2 separate regions of the Homo sapiens genome follow, and region 1 is linked to region 2. The links are contacts of gene promoters, found by promoter capture Hi-C in blood cells and fetal thymus (Javierre and others, 2016). All regions are on one chromosome and are shown on one strand. The core of a region is centred on a gene start or on the middle of the fragment in contact, and the rest is flanking DNA. Distances in the headings are between cores, read along the strand shown.

Evidence for each region. Contacts are between HindIII fragments. The CHiCAGO score rates a contact against its expected background, and 5 or more counts as called.
Region 1: a contact is called between the fragment with the promoter of PTGER2 here and the fragment with the promoter of TMX1 in region 2, in 1 of 17 cell types (activated CD4 T cells). The highest score is 5.7, in activated CD4 T cells.

The regions. Positions count from the first base shown.
Region 1 is chr14:52,310,075-52,316,953 of GRCh38, forward strand. PTGER2 (prostaglandin E receptor 2) reads left to right here and starts at 4,238. Exons shown (of 2, transcript NM_000956.4): 1 at 4,238-5,317. The coding sequence starts at 4,475. RefSeq lists enhancers at 3,468-4,028, 4,029-4,588, 4,823-4,972, 4,993-5,132 and a silencer at 4,193-4,302. The HindIII fragment of the contact is 17,361 bases long and covers 1-6,879 here.
Region 2 is chr14:51,236,850-51,243,978 of GRCh38, forward strand. It overlaps TMX1 (thioredoxin related transmembrane protein 1), which reads left to right and starts at 3,398. Exons shown (of 8, transcript NM_030755.5): 1 at 3,398-3,595; 2 at 7,007-7,122. The coding sequence starts at 3,444. RefSeq lists a silencer at 3,234-3,576 and an enhancer at 3,437-3,676. The HindIII fragment of the contact is 7,115 bases long and covers 1-4,080 here.

The DNA.
Region 1 (6,879 bases), core at 2,988-5,487, 1.1 Mb after region 2:
GTCTGTTCTTGCTATCATCCACATCCAACTTTCTGCCCTGACTGAAATCCTGACTGACCTATAGTGACTTCAGACTCAACACTAGAACCGAAGACAACAAACAGCCATGCCAGGACTCCTCCACCAGGTCTCACATCCTGCAAGGTCTAGGGCAGCACTGTCCAGTAGAACTTTCTGTGATGATGGAAGTGTTTTATTGGGCACCTGAGCTGCCCAATATGATACCCACAAGTCACACGTGGCTATTGAGCATTTGAAATGTGCCCAGTGCTGTAGAGGAGCTAAGTTGTTACTCTTATTTAATGTTAATTAATTTAAATTTAAATAGCCAGATGTGGCTAATGGCTACAATATTGGTCAAGGGAGGCCTAGTGCCTAATAATAAATTCCATGTTTTCTTAATCACTCGTAGTGGCTCTGTTTCTCTGGTTGAATCCTGACTGATACAGGCAGCAGCTGCTAGCTACATGGGGAGAGCATGGAGACACAAAGCCAGCATTACTAGGAATCACAGGGCTAGAGGAAGAAGCAGCCTGGCTCCTGGAAGTTCAACCAGCCTACAACCTTTGAACTTCTTAGTAAGAAAAAAAATAGACCCCCAGTGGGCAGTGAACTATCACTGTGTACTTCCAATAAACCCTGTCTCTTTTCTTGGTGGCTTCTGCTTCCTGCCGTGAAGTGTAGACCTTGTCTCAAATACCACAGGACACAGATGGTGTTCTTAGGACTCAATTTGAAAAAAAAATGTATTTATGCATGCATAGGAATCATAAAATATAAATTTAAACTCGTCTTTTGAACGAGGAAAGTAACATCAATAAAACTATGAACAAGAATTAATGTTAGCTTTTTGCCCAAGCAATTCTCCTTTCCTTCATGTTTATCTTTGCTTTCTCTTGAAGAATGACCTAAAGGAAGTAACCCACCTTCCACAGTCCTTTGAATTCATGGATACATAAATGAACACTATGAACTTTAGACTTTAAGAAGTGTATATTAGTCAGGGTTTGCCAGAGAAACAGCCAGTAGGATGGATATACATAAAGATATTTATTATAAAGTATCAACTCATGCAATTGTGGAGGCTGAGAAGTCCCACAATCTGTCATGTACAAGCTGGAGACCCAGTAAAGCTGGTGACAAAGTTTGAAAGTCTGGGAGCTGAAGAGCCAGTGGTGTAGATTCCAGTCCTGGTCTGAAGGCCTGAAAACCATAAGTGTCAGCGGCAGGAGATCAATGTCCCCACTCATGCAGTGAGGCAGAGAGTGAATTTCACCTTCCCCTACTTTTTTAGTCTATTCAAGCCCTAATGGATTGCATGAAGCCCACCAACACTGAGAAGGGCATGTGCTTTACTCAGTCCATCAACTCAAACACTAATCTCCTCCAGAAACACTTTCACAGACATACCCCGCCATCATGTTTAACCAGCTACCTGGGCATCCCATGGCCTAGTCAAGTCGACACATAAAATTAACCATCACATAGTGTTCCCCACATACAATGGCCCCACAAACAGGAACTAAACAATTAGCAAAGCTCTATGGCTCAATTCTAGAATTGAGGGTGTTAATCTGTTTTCTGTTAAGGAACTCTAGGCTCTATGTAAACTGAAACTGTATCAAAATGCTGACACTAAAATTAGAAATGGGAAGAAGTAGCTTTTAAACCACAAAATTAACTGGGGGTAACTGACAAGCAAGATTAGACTTGCACTTAAAGGAACAAACGTGATGGTCCAGTTGCTACGTAGCGACAGCAAACTTATCAACTCTCCTACTCAGCAATCTAGCAACAGGGAACACAGCAAACTGCTAAACCAAACACACACACACACACACACACACACACACACACACATATGTATGTATTCTGTCCAAATGCTGGAAGCAATTAAAAGGAGTAATTTGAACAAGCAATGCTGAGCAGCACAGTAATTAATAGGATACTGGCCTCCCAAGATTTATAGGGCCCACTCTAGTCTTCCTCTTGTCACATACCTTACCACAGGTGAGACACCCTCAGGGCACTATTCACCCAGACCCCATTACCCCTCCATTCTAGACCACCTTCCAGGTACCTGAGATCATGAAATTTCCTGCTCAAATGTTGGTCCCATAACTCGCTTCCAGGGCTTGATCAGGCATCTTCCCTAGGTCCATCCAATCAAGGGTCATTTGCATGTTTGAGATGCATATTCCCAGGACCAAGGTGGCTTTGGGGAGAGAGCTTGGTTATCAACAACTATAGTGTCCACATATTGAACTATACTGTCCACATATTGAACTATACTCTCCACATATTTCTGTGCAAGACTCCTTGTGGTGCAAGACTGAGTCAGGGGTTAGGAAGACAAGGGGGCAGGGGCCTGGGGGAGGATCTTCAACTGCACTCTTGCTCTCGTATTCACAAAAACCAGGGGCCGGCCTGCCACCAGGTACCCATCCAAAGAAAAGCTAGAGACAAATATATAGGAAAGGTTAAATAGTAGGTTTTTGTTGTGAGGGGCCTTATGAAAATTAAAAAGGTATAAAAATATTCGGAAAATAAGCACTGTGCAAATTCAGTGAATCTAAAATCCCTTATTTAATAGTAAAACTGCAGTGCAGAATTATGCTATAAATCATAGTGTTTTCCTATTAAGAAATACTTCTGATTTAAGTTTGATGTTTCCCCATTGCTTGGGGTGAGATGGGGGAATGTTGGAGTAGGGGAATAGTCAGAGATGGATGGCAAAGATTGGTAATAAGTTGTTACTGACCTGCAGAGTTTACAGCTTGAAAGAAAAACTGTAGGAGTTAAGATCCTCTTTCCTAGGAATCCATGCCATGAGAAGTTTAGGGATTGAAGTAGTGCCTGCTGACATGTGAAAACCGGCCTGTAAACTTTGCAAGCGATCCAGTAAATTATGCTTGTTCTAGTGGGAACCACCCCCCCCAACTCCGCATTCCAATCCCCAGGCCAGAATCATCAAAGTTGGCAAAAAATATTCATGGAGAGTAAGCAGGCTGTAGCAAGATAGGCTCTTCAGCAGGCAATCTTTGCTTCCTCCCACGTTATGACTGTCTTTCTTGCCAGTTCCCTAGGCAGATCAGACCCTTCACTTCCCAGTTGGCCTCCCTTCCCCAAGTGAATGTGACTTCTTACAGAACACAATTACCTATGTTGTCTGCCAAACTGGATTTTGTTTTGTTTTGTTTTGTGTTAAATATCAGCCCATTTTCACGACTCTGCAATTATGACAATATGTGGTAGGAAACCATTACTGTCAGCTCCAGTCTGAAACTGGCCACTTACCAATACACTTTGCCAGGAACAAGTCTTTCTGGATGGATACTACGTGGTTAACAACATGTAAAGATAAACGGCTAAACAAAATATCAACATTTTCTTACAAGGCTCAGCTTAAGGACAGAACAGTGATGTGCAATGGTTTTCATGTTGTATCCACAAACACAATTCTGTATAAGACACACTCCTCTTTTTTTAATGGTTGCTTAAACAAGTGGTTATCCGTTATGCTGTTGACATAGGAAACGGTGAAATGCTAGTAACCGAATCAAAGCGGCAGTGCAACAGGCCGCTCGGTGGTGCGCATTGTGTGGTTTGGTTCCTTGGATGGACACACTTGCTTTACGCTTCATCCCAATTTTTGTCCCAACCTCTTAGTGTATCTTCCTGGGAATAGTAAAAACAAAGCAAAACATTCTGGTCTTACTTCAAGCTGCCTTTGCACTGTTATTCCCTTGTTCCGCTCATTTCACGGGATTGGGTTCTCCTAACTTCATTGTTTGGTGAGTTGCTTTGCTTTGCTCGTTGCCCCGATCTTCTGTGTATTCTGCGCAGACCCCGCAAGTGCTCCTGCACTCCCTCCCAGCCCTCTGCTGGGGCTTAACGCTTCCCAGCCGAGGTCAGACTGCCGTGCGCTTCGAGTACCGGACCCCGAGGAAGCGAGAAACGCCGCTCCCGCCGGTCGCGGGCAGCTTCAGTACACCGGCAACACGCGCGCCTCTGCCCAGTGCCGCGCCCAGCGGGTGCTCAGACTCCTTCTCTCCCTCCCCGCCGGCGCGCCCCAGGGACTCGGAACGCCCCCGCGAGTGTGACGCGTCCTGCCTCCCCTGCAGCTCGCGGACACTCGCACTTGCAAGGCCTGGCCAGCACTCTTGGGCCCGCCCCCCGACAGTGCGGGGGCGGAGACGACGGCTCCCCTAGGCTCTGGCTCCCGGCCTTGGCCGGCGCGGGTAGGCGCGGGAGCCTCGAGCGCCGCTCGGATGCAGCAGCCGAGCCGCCACTCGGCGCGCGGCGGGAGACCCAGGGCAAGCCGCCGTCGGCGCGCTGGGTGCGGGAAGGGGGCTCTGGATTTCGGTCCCTCCCCTTTTTCCTCTGAGTCTCGGAACGCTCCGGCTCTCAGACCCTCTTCCTCCCAGGTAAAGGCCGGGAGAGGAGGGCGCATCTCTTTTCCAGGCACCCCACCATGGGCAATGCCTCCAATGACTCCCAGTCTGAGGACTGCGAGACGCGACAGTGGCTTCCCCCAGGCGAAAGCCCAGCCATCAGCTCCGTCATGTTCTCGGCCGGGGTGCTGGGGAACCTCATAGCACTGGCGCTGCTGGCGCGCCGCTGGCGGGGGGACGTGGGGTGCAGCGCCGGCCGCAGGAGCTCCCTCTCCTTGTTCCACGTGCTGGTGACCGAGCTGGTGTTCACCGACCTGCTCGGGACCTGCCTCATCAGCCCAGTGGTACTGGCTTCGTACGCGCGGAACCAGACCCTGGTGGCACTGGCGCCCGAGAGCCGCGCGTGCACCTACTTCGCTTTCGCCATGACCTTCTTCAGCCTGGCCACGATGCTCATGCTCTTCGCCATGGCCCTGGAGCGCTACCTCTCGATCGGGCACCCCTACTTCTACCAGCGCCGCGTCTCGCGCTCCGGGGGCCTGGCCGTGCTGCCTGTCATCTATGCAGTCTCCCTGCTCTTCTGCTCGCTGCCGCTGCTGGACTATGGGCAGTACGTCCAGTACTGCCCCGGGACCTGGTGCTTCATCCGGCACGGGCGGACCGCTTACCTGCAGCTGTACGCCACCCTGCTGCTGCTTCTCATTGTCTCGGTGCTCGCCTGCAACTTCAGTGTCATTCTCAACCTCATCCGCATGCACCGCCGAAGCCGGAGAAGCCGCTGCGGACCTTCCCTGGGCAGTGGCCGGGGCGGCCCCGGGGCCCGCAGGAGAGGGGAAAGGGTGTCCATGGCGGAGGAGACGGACCACCTCATTCTCCTGGCTATCATGACCATCACCTTCGCCGTCTGCTCCTTGCCTTTCACGGTAAGTCACTCCCTACGTTTCCACAGCCCGGCTCTGCTCAGCCTTCTCATGCTCTCCCCTGACGCCTCCACCCTTTCCACCGCCCTACAAACTTTTTGCAACTTGTAAAAATATGTCCTAATTTGTAAAGATCTGTAGCCTTCCCCACTAGTTTCCCCTCCTCTTTAGCCCACTTCCTTATCCTGGCTTATGGGCGTTGCTAGGCTAGAGTTTCTTATACAATAATACAGACCGTCCGAAAGGGAGTCCTGGGCCTCAGCTAAGCTAGCCAATCTCCTCATCCTAGCCCTGGGCAGTGTCCCTTTCTCGCTGTTGCCTATCTTGGCTTAGTAATTGAGAAAGAGGCAGCCCCTTCCACCTTAGGATGGCTGTCACTGTTCCAGCCTGACGACCTGGAGCTGCAGTTTGCTGCCCTGTACCTCTCATCCACTGGTGCTGGTTCTCCATGCTTGCCTTCTGTTCCTGCCAGGGCAAAATGTAGTACCCAACCCATAGCATTCCAGCTGCCATTGAAAATGGTCCCAGATGAGAAGGGTCCCTGAAGCAGAAGTTTAGAGCATTTGTTATTTGTCCTAAAAGTCCAACAAACATCTAGTTTATAGGTTTCCCAATTTATATATTTGAATGTAACTCTTTGTGGCCATGAAAGTTTATAAAACCATAATGATAACTAGAGGAAATACTTGGAGGAACATCTTGCTAAGCATTTGTAATATCTTGCAAAACACGCTCTTAATGTCACTGTCAGAAATACACACAGGTGTCCTTCAGCTTACAGTTATGCACTTGATGAGCACAAAGCCACAGGCAGGAATGGCTGGTCCCTCTCAGGAAGGGAAGAGTGGGGCTACCTGGGGAACTGAAGGACAAGAGACCAAGTCCTGGCATCGTGCTGCCTTGATTTGGGGCAACTTTAGCAGTTATTTGATGCTAACTAACTGCTAAATGATATGAGGCTGTGAGTTCAAGTCTCCTCAAGTGTAACGTTTTAGCTGAGCCTGGAATATGTCCGAGAATGTGCTGGCCTCTTACGGGGGCTAGGAATTGGGAGTTGTGGCAACTCCACTTCCTAATCTTCAGAAGAGCAAGACTGATGCTGCAGCATCAAAGCAGTTAATAGTGACTTCCACCTGCCACAATCTTGGAGAAAAGAGATGGGCAGTGCCTACTATTAACAGGTCTGACCTGTAAAAGCTGGAGGAGAAGTAACTTTATCCTATCTCCTGCCTCCATTACTGCTTCTTACATCTTCATGTGCTCATCCTCAGGGATGGGAAGGGACACAGGGTCCCAAAGGTCTGAATATGATTCTCTCCTCCCCAGCCCAGTTAACTCCCTTAGCTACGTTCTCTTCTCCCTGGTCCCCACTGTCCTCACCCTTCTACCCCATCCTCTGTCAGGGCAGAAACTGTTCTGAATTGGTTACACTTTGAGGGAATGAGATAGAATATTCAAAGACGCCCTCTTATAAAATGAAGTCGGACTGTGGGAGGCTGCATCTCCCATACCACTCTGAGCAGGGGAGTTTATGCAACAGAAACGCTGTGATGTAGAAACCCACA
Region 2 (7,129 bases), core at 2,148-4,647:
ACCAACTCAAGAAGAAATAGAAAATCATAGTAGACTTATAACAAGAGATTGAATTAGTAATTTAAAAGCTACCTACAAAGGAAAGCCCAGGCCTAGGTGACTTCACTGCTAGACTCTATCAGACAGTTAAAGAAGAGTTAATACAAATTCTTCACAAACACTTCCAAAAAATAGAAAAGGAGGGAACACTTCCCAGCTTATTTTACGAGGCCAGTTATATCCTGATAGCAAAACCAAAGACATTACAAGAAAACTACAGACCAATATCTCTAAGGAATATAGACATAAAAATATGCAACAAAATACTAGCAAACTGAATGTGGCAATATATAAAAAGAATTATACACCATGGCTAAGTGGGATTTATACCAAGAATGCAAGGTTGATTTCATGTCCCAAAATCAATCAATGTAATACACTGTATCTTTGGGAGGCTGAGGCAGGCAGATCATGAGGTCAAGAGAAAGAGACCATCCTGGCCAACATGGTGAAACCCCGTCTCTACTAAAAATATAAAAATTACCTGGGCGTGGTGGCACGTGCCTGTAATCCCAGCTACTCGGGAGTTGAGGCAAGAGAATTGCTTGAATCCAGGAGGCGGAGGTTGCAGTGCGCTGAGATCACACCACTGCACTCTAGCCTAATGACAGAGCAAGACTCCGTCTCAAAAAAAAAAAAAAAAAAAAAACAAAAAAAACACCATATCAATAGAGTAAAGGACAAAAACCACATGGTCATTTCAATAAATGCAGAAAAAGGATTTGTCAAAATTCAACACTTCTTCAAGATAAAAACAGACGACCTTCTAGGAATAGAAGGAAACTTCCTCACCTGTATAAAAGGCAACTATTTAGAATTCACATTAACATCATACTTAGTGGTAAAAGACAACGCTTTTCTCCTAAGAACAGGAACAAGATAAGTATGTTTGGCCACTCTTGCCATTTCTATTCAACATTGTAATGGAGGTCTAGTGTCTTAGCTTGGGCTGCCATAATAAAATATCATAGACTGGGTGGCTTAAACAATAGAAATTTATTTTCTCACAAATTTAGGAAGTTCTCATTGTACTCAAGGCAAGAAAACTCTGGACTAGGGTGTTGGCTGTTGAGATGGAAATTGGTGGTCAGATTCAGGATACGTTTTGAAGGTAACGTTTACAAGATTTGCTCATAGGTTACAAGAGGAGAAGGTGAAGAGAGAGAACAATAAAGAATTAACATGTACATGTTTGGCTAGAGAAACCTGGTGAACCTCGGGGCTCTTTAGTGGATGGAAGACCAGGAGAGGAAGAATCAAGAATTATCTTTTTTGGCCGTTTGATGTTTGAGCTTCTGAACCCCCAAAATCTGAGACAGGTCTCAGTCAATTTAGGAAGTTTATTTTGCCAAAATTAAGAATGCGCGCCCATGACATAGCCTGAGGAGGTGCTGAGGACATGTGCCTAAGGTGGGTGGAGCACAGCTTGATTTTATATTATATATTTTAGGGAGACATGAGACATCAATCAACATATGTAAGATGAACATTGTATTGGCCTGGAAAGGTGGGACAACTCAAAGCAAAGGCGGGACAAACTCGAAGCCAGGAAGGGGCTTCCAGGTCATAGGTGGGTAAGAGACAAATGGTGGCATTCTTCTAAGTTTCTGATTAGCCTTCCAAAGGAGGCAATCAGATATGCATTTATCTCAGTGAGAAGAAGGATGAGAGGCAGGTTTGCCCTAAGCAGTTCCCAGCTTGACTTTTCCCTTTAGCTTAATGATTTTGGGGCCCCAAGATTTCTTTTCCTTTCACCAGCTATTACATACCCAAGAGATGTTTAGCAAGGAGTTGAATACATATGCCTGTAGTTCCCAGAAGGATCAGAGTCTGAATGATATACAGTTGAATACATATGCCTGTAGTTCCCAGAAAGATCAGAGTCTGAATGATATACAGTTGAATACATATGCCTGTAGTTCCCAGAAAGATGAGAGCCTGATGATATGAAGAGAAAGGTGGCGGGAGATGGGGGGCGGGGGGCAGTAAAGCATCCTGGAGATGCCGATGTCCGGAAGTAAAGGAGGACCAGCCAAGAAGTTTGAGAAGAATCAGCTACTGTAGGACAGAAAAAAAAGCGAGCTGCCCAGACAGCAAGATAGTAAAGTGTTTCAAGGGTGTGGTAGAATGGGGCTAGGAGTCATGCTAGATGCATTGAGAAGAAACAATTGGGATTTATCTTGCTGGTCGCTGGTGTCCTTGAGAGGGCTATTCAGTGGAGGGGTGGGGAAGGGGACTAATTGGGGTTAATTAAGTTGAAAAGGTGAGGTAAGATAGTGGCAACTATTTCCTTGAGACTTAGTCTCTCTCTATAGCCCAGATTGGAGTGCAGTGGAATGATCTCGGTTCACTGCAACCTCCGCCTCCCGGGTTCAAGCGATTCTCCTGCCTCAGCCTCCTGAGTAGCTGGGACTACAGGCGCCTGCCACCACGCCTGGCTAATTTTTGTATTTTTAGTAGAGACGGGGTTTCACTATGTTGGTCAGGCTGGTCACAAACTCCTGACCTCAAGTGATCCGCCTGCCTTGGCCTCCCTGTTTTGCTAGGATTACAGGCGTGAGCCACCGCACCTGCAACTATTTTCATTTGACTGATGGGGCAGTGCACATTTTGGTTTGCATTTGTATTTACGAATGTTTGAGAGAAAAAACTCAAATATCTTACAAGCCTATGTGTCTGGTTCCATTTTGAAGTACTGACCTAGGATCTCTGTACCTACTGAATTTTTTTTGAGAGATAACATACACCTGAAAGTGCATAAAGTGCACTGTCTTAAAATGTACAGCTTGATCCTTCTTTAAAAAAAATCATATACGTACGCCCATGTAACTACTGTTCATATCTAGATGTTGAACACCTCCAACACATCCAACATAACCATAATGTTCCTCTGCACCTTCCCTGTCTATAATCTCTCAGAAGTAAACCAATATTCCGACTCCTATAAAATCCATTAGCTTTACTACATGTTTCAAAGAAAACAAATGAGAACTCTGAAGGACATTTAATTGGAAAACTGCTTTAGCACATTATAAACTTACCAATTTGCTTGTAAACGCTAACCATTTGGCGCCAAAATCCTGGGAGGGTCTTTTAAACCGTTCTTCCTCAAAGCACCGCCCCACTTTTTACACCACGCCTCCTTTTGCTCTGTTCCTTCCCCCACAATATTGGGACACCCTAGGCGGTAGAAGCAGCCGCTTTTCTGTCATGCGCATTGCGGAGAGTCGTTCTTCCCTCTTTCCCGACTTCACCACTCACTGGGATCAGACCCCTGTCATGCGCATTGAGAGTCCTCTAGACAGGCGCTCCTCGCAGCACCGTAGTGCGCTTGCGCTGAGCAGCCCGCGAGGGCGGAAGTGGGAGCTGCGACCGCGCTCCCTGTGAGGTGGGCAAGCGGCGAAATGGCGCCCTCCGGGAGTCTTGCAGTTCCCCTGGCAGTCCTGGTGCTGTTGCTTTGGGGTGCTCCCTGGACGCACGGGCGGCGGAGCAACGTTCGCGTCATCACGGACGAGAACTGGAGAGAACTGCTGGAAGGAGACTGGATGATAGAATTGTGAGTGCGGGGCGGCCAGGGTCCTACGTCCGTGCCTGGACACACGACTTCACCCCGCACGTTCCTCGTGCGGGTCGCAGGCTCCCCAGGACTGCGCCTCCGAGTTGCGGAGCGAGCGTCCCCGACTTCTGCAGCTCCCCAAACTCTTGGGATCTGCCGCCAGCTTGGTCCCACCCCCTCGTCTCTTACCCGTGAATGTTAAGTTTCTTCTGGGGTGCACCCTCGTTTCGTTTCTTGGGTTGTGGTGCGCCCAAAGGGTTAGTGCCAATGCGAATTCTGACATTTTTCATGACTTTGAGGATGCGACTGGGGCGCGGGGAGGGAGGTGTCCGACTCGTGTCTAAGTAGTTAAAGTGATTCTTCACAGACTTCTACACTTATTTTCACCACATTTTACATAAGAGAATATTGAGCAAAATTTCTCCTCTCGTTTTGTCTGTCCTTAAAAGATAGTCTCTTTATGGTGTTGGAATTTGGCGCTTTTAAGCTTTTTTTAATGGATTGGGTACGTTTCTTTTTTATTGTAAATACTGAGTCAATTCAAGTTGGGTTATTTTTAAGTTTTCGTTTTCTCTTTTTGCCTCCTCTTTTGCTTTCTCTTTTTTTCACTCCTCATCTCATTTTTCCTTTGGGTGTCTTTGTAGTGTAGAGAATACCTTGGGTTGTGACTCCTAGGTCTTTGTAAATGGTATTACATTAAAAGATAATGTATTAATGTATACACTCTCAAGAGCGCCAGGTCATCATTTATTGCTCGAACGAAATCATGTATTTTGTGTGGTGATTTCAATTTAATAATATCTGTTCTGCCGCGGTGGGAAATAAAGTATCTGTCTTTGCTTTAGATGCTAAGTCGTTGTTGATGGTGGTATTATACATATTAGCAGTATTTACTGATAATAGTAAAAGCATAATTATTAACAGTGTACTGGACACCACTAAGCACCTTTACACGAATACCATATTTAATTCCCTACAAATTCTCTATGACAGGTGTTTTTCACGTTTTACAAATGAGTAACAAGATACCTAAATACTTTAGTTAACCTATGCAGATATTGCTGTGCTGGCTTTCTTTGGGTCTTCAGAGTAGGCATACAATAATTGTTGTTAGAACACCTTCTTCTTTAAAAAGGTTCAGCTGGAAGTGGCGTACGCTACCCAGGAGATTGAGGTATGAGGATGACTTGAGCCCAGGGGTTCAAGAGATCCTGGGCAACTAGCAAAATAAATAAGTAAATAAATAAAAATGAAAAGACAACAGGGTTCAGGTGAGTGTTTTCTTGTGTCACGAATACAGCAAGGGTTGTCAAGTTAAGGAGGCCAGTGAAAGTGACATCCCCAAGGGAGAACCCAGAAGGCTAAATCAGTAAGTCCTGTGTTATTTTTTAAAAAAACAAAACTGGCCGGCGCGGTGGCTCACGCCTGTAATCCCAGCACTTTGGGAGGCCGAGGCCGGTGGATCACGAGGTGAGGAGATCGAGACCATCCTGGCTAACACGGTGAAACGCCGTTTGTACTAAAAATACAAAAAATTACCTGGGCGTGGTGGCACGCGCCTGTAGTCCCAGCTACTCGGGAGGCTGAGGCAGAAGAATCGCTTGAATCTGGGAGTCAGAGGTTGCAGTGAGCCGAGGTCGCACCACTGCACTCCAGCCTGGGCGACAGAGTGAGACTCAATCTCAAAAAAAAAGTAGAACATTTATATGGAGGGTAAGATAAAGGGAAATTTTCATAGTATGCATGTAGTCTGCAATTCTGAAATGAATTTTCATTCAGGCACCATTGAAAGCTTCAGGGGAGAGGAACTGTGACACTTTTTCAGTCATCATCATGAGTAACTTGTTTTAGATCGTGCCTGTAAAATAGTGTTATAAGCAATATATTAAGCAATAGTGATCGTGTGTGTATATGCAAAATACAGTCAAGTATTACTCAAGGATATTTTTTAACTCATTATGGTCCAACTATATAAATACAGCAATCAGAAGTAGTATTAAGGAGAACAAGACTAACAAAACATTGAGTATGAGGTAAATCCACATTGGAGCATCTATCTGAAATTATGCTATAGAGTAGTAGTTTTTCTTTTTCCTTAAGTAGAGATTCTAAAGTAAGTTTTTAGAAAGCAACTGACAGCCTGGGCAACATGGCAAAAACCAGTCTCTACAAAAAAATACGAAAAATTAGCTGGGCGTGTGGGCAGGCATCTGTAGTCCCAGCTACTTGGGCTGAGGTGGGAGGATGTCTTGAGCCCGGGAGGTTGAGGTTGCAGTGAGCCCAGATGGCGCCACTGCCCTCCAGCCTGGGTAACAAAGCGAGACCCTGTTTCAAAAAATAAAAAAGCAACTGAGCAACAAAACGAACCTGAAAAAGAAGGACTCTAGTAGTTTTAGTAATAGTCTGCTCCTAATTACAAGTGAATTATCTACAGTAAATCCATTTCTGCTCAGAAGTTTTGTCATGGAGATATTTTCATTGTAATACGATTTATTGTTAGGAGCTTGGCTTTTATACTACCAGTTTGTCTTGTTCTACAATGTCTATTTTAGGAGTTTGGTTTTCATAAAACAAGTGAAGAAAATGTGAAGTACAGAAAGTATAGTTTTGTGTTTAACTGCTTTAGGCTTTATTCTTCCTGGTTCTGTTAAAAAAAAAAAAAAAAAAAGAACAACCCTGTGGTGTATTATAAGATAAAATACAATAAAGTGGAAAAATAAGATCCTCAGGAGATAATACCAGAGGAGTAATTTAAATGCTAATATGCTTGCATTTGTAAATCCAAGGTCTTGGAAACAGGATGACCTAACTGGCCAAGAGTTTTGTTTGGCCTGCTTAGTATTTGTGTGTGGGTTATTTTTTGAGGTAACATTCTCATATAAAAATGCAGCTCTCCATCTTCTTTTAAATATGAATAGCCAGCCTTAGTGTGCCAGCATCCTTAGTGGCAATCCTACTTAATAATGGTTGCCACTTTAAGATGGAATATGTGCTTTCTTATTCACCACAGCCCAGGACACTTCTGTTTTTCCAACACCTTGCATTTGTGACTCTGCATTATAAATTATTAAAATTGGTAAGCTCTAACTTTGGTCTTGAGCTTTCTGGTGGCCACACCGTTAATAGAGAAATGCAAAAGTTTTCTAAAGAGCTGTTTTGCATGTGAAAAAATCCTGTGTCTTATTCTCAGAATTTTATTTGATTAGCATCATCAGTTCATCATTCTTGATTTCCGGATTGTTAGATCTACCCTTAAAAGTTTTTCATCTGCATAAAATTAACCACCTTATCATCTTCAGTGTTTTCATATGAAATATTCTTCATAAATTATACATTTAAATTTTTTATCCCAAGATAAATGGTCATACTAAAGTGCTTAACTTTTTTTAAAAAAAAATCTGTATTTCTTAGTTATGCCCCGTGGTGCCCTGCTTGTCAAAATCTTCAACCGGAATGGGAAAGTTTTGCTGAATGGGGAGAAGATCTTGAGGTTAATATTGCGAAAGTAGATGTCACAGAGCAGCCAGGTACTGT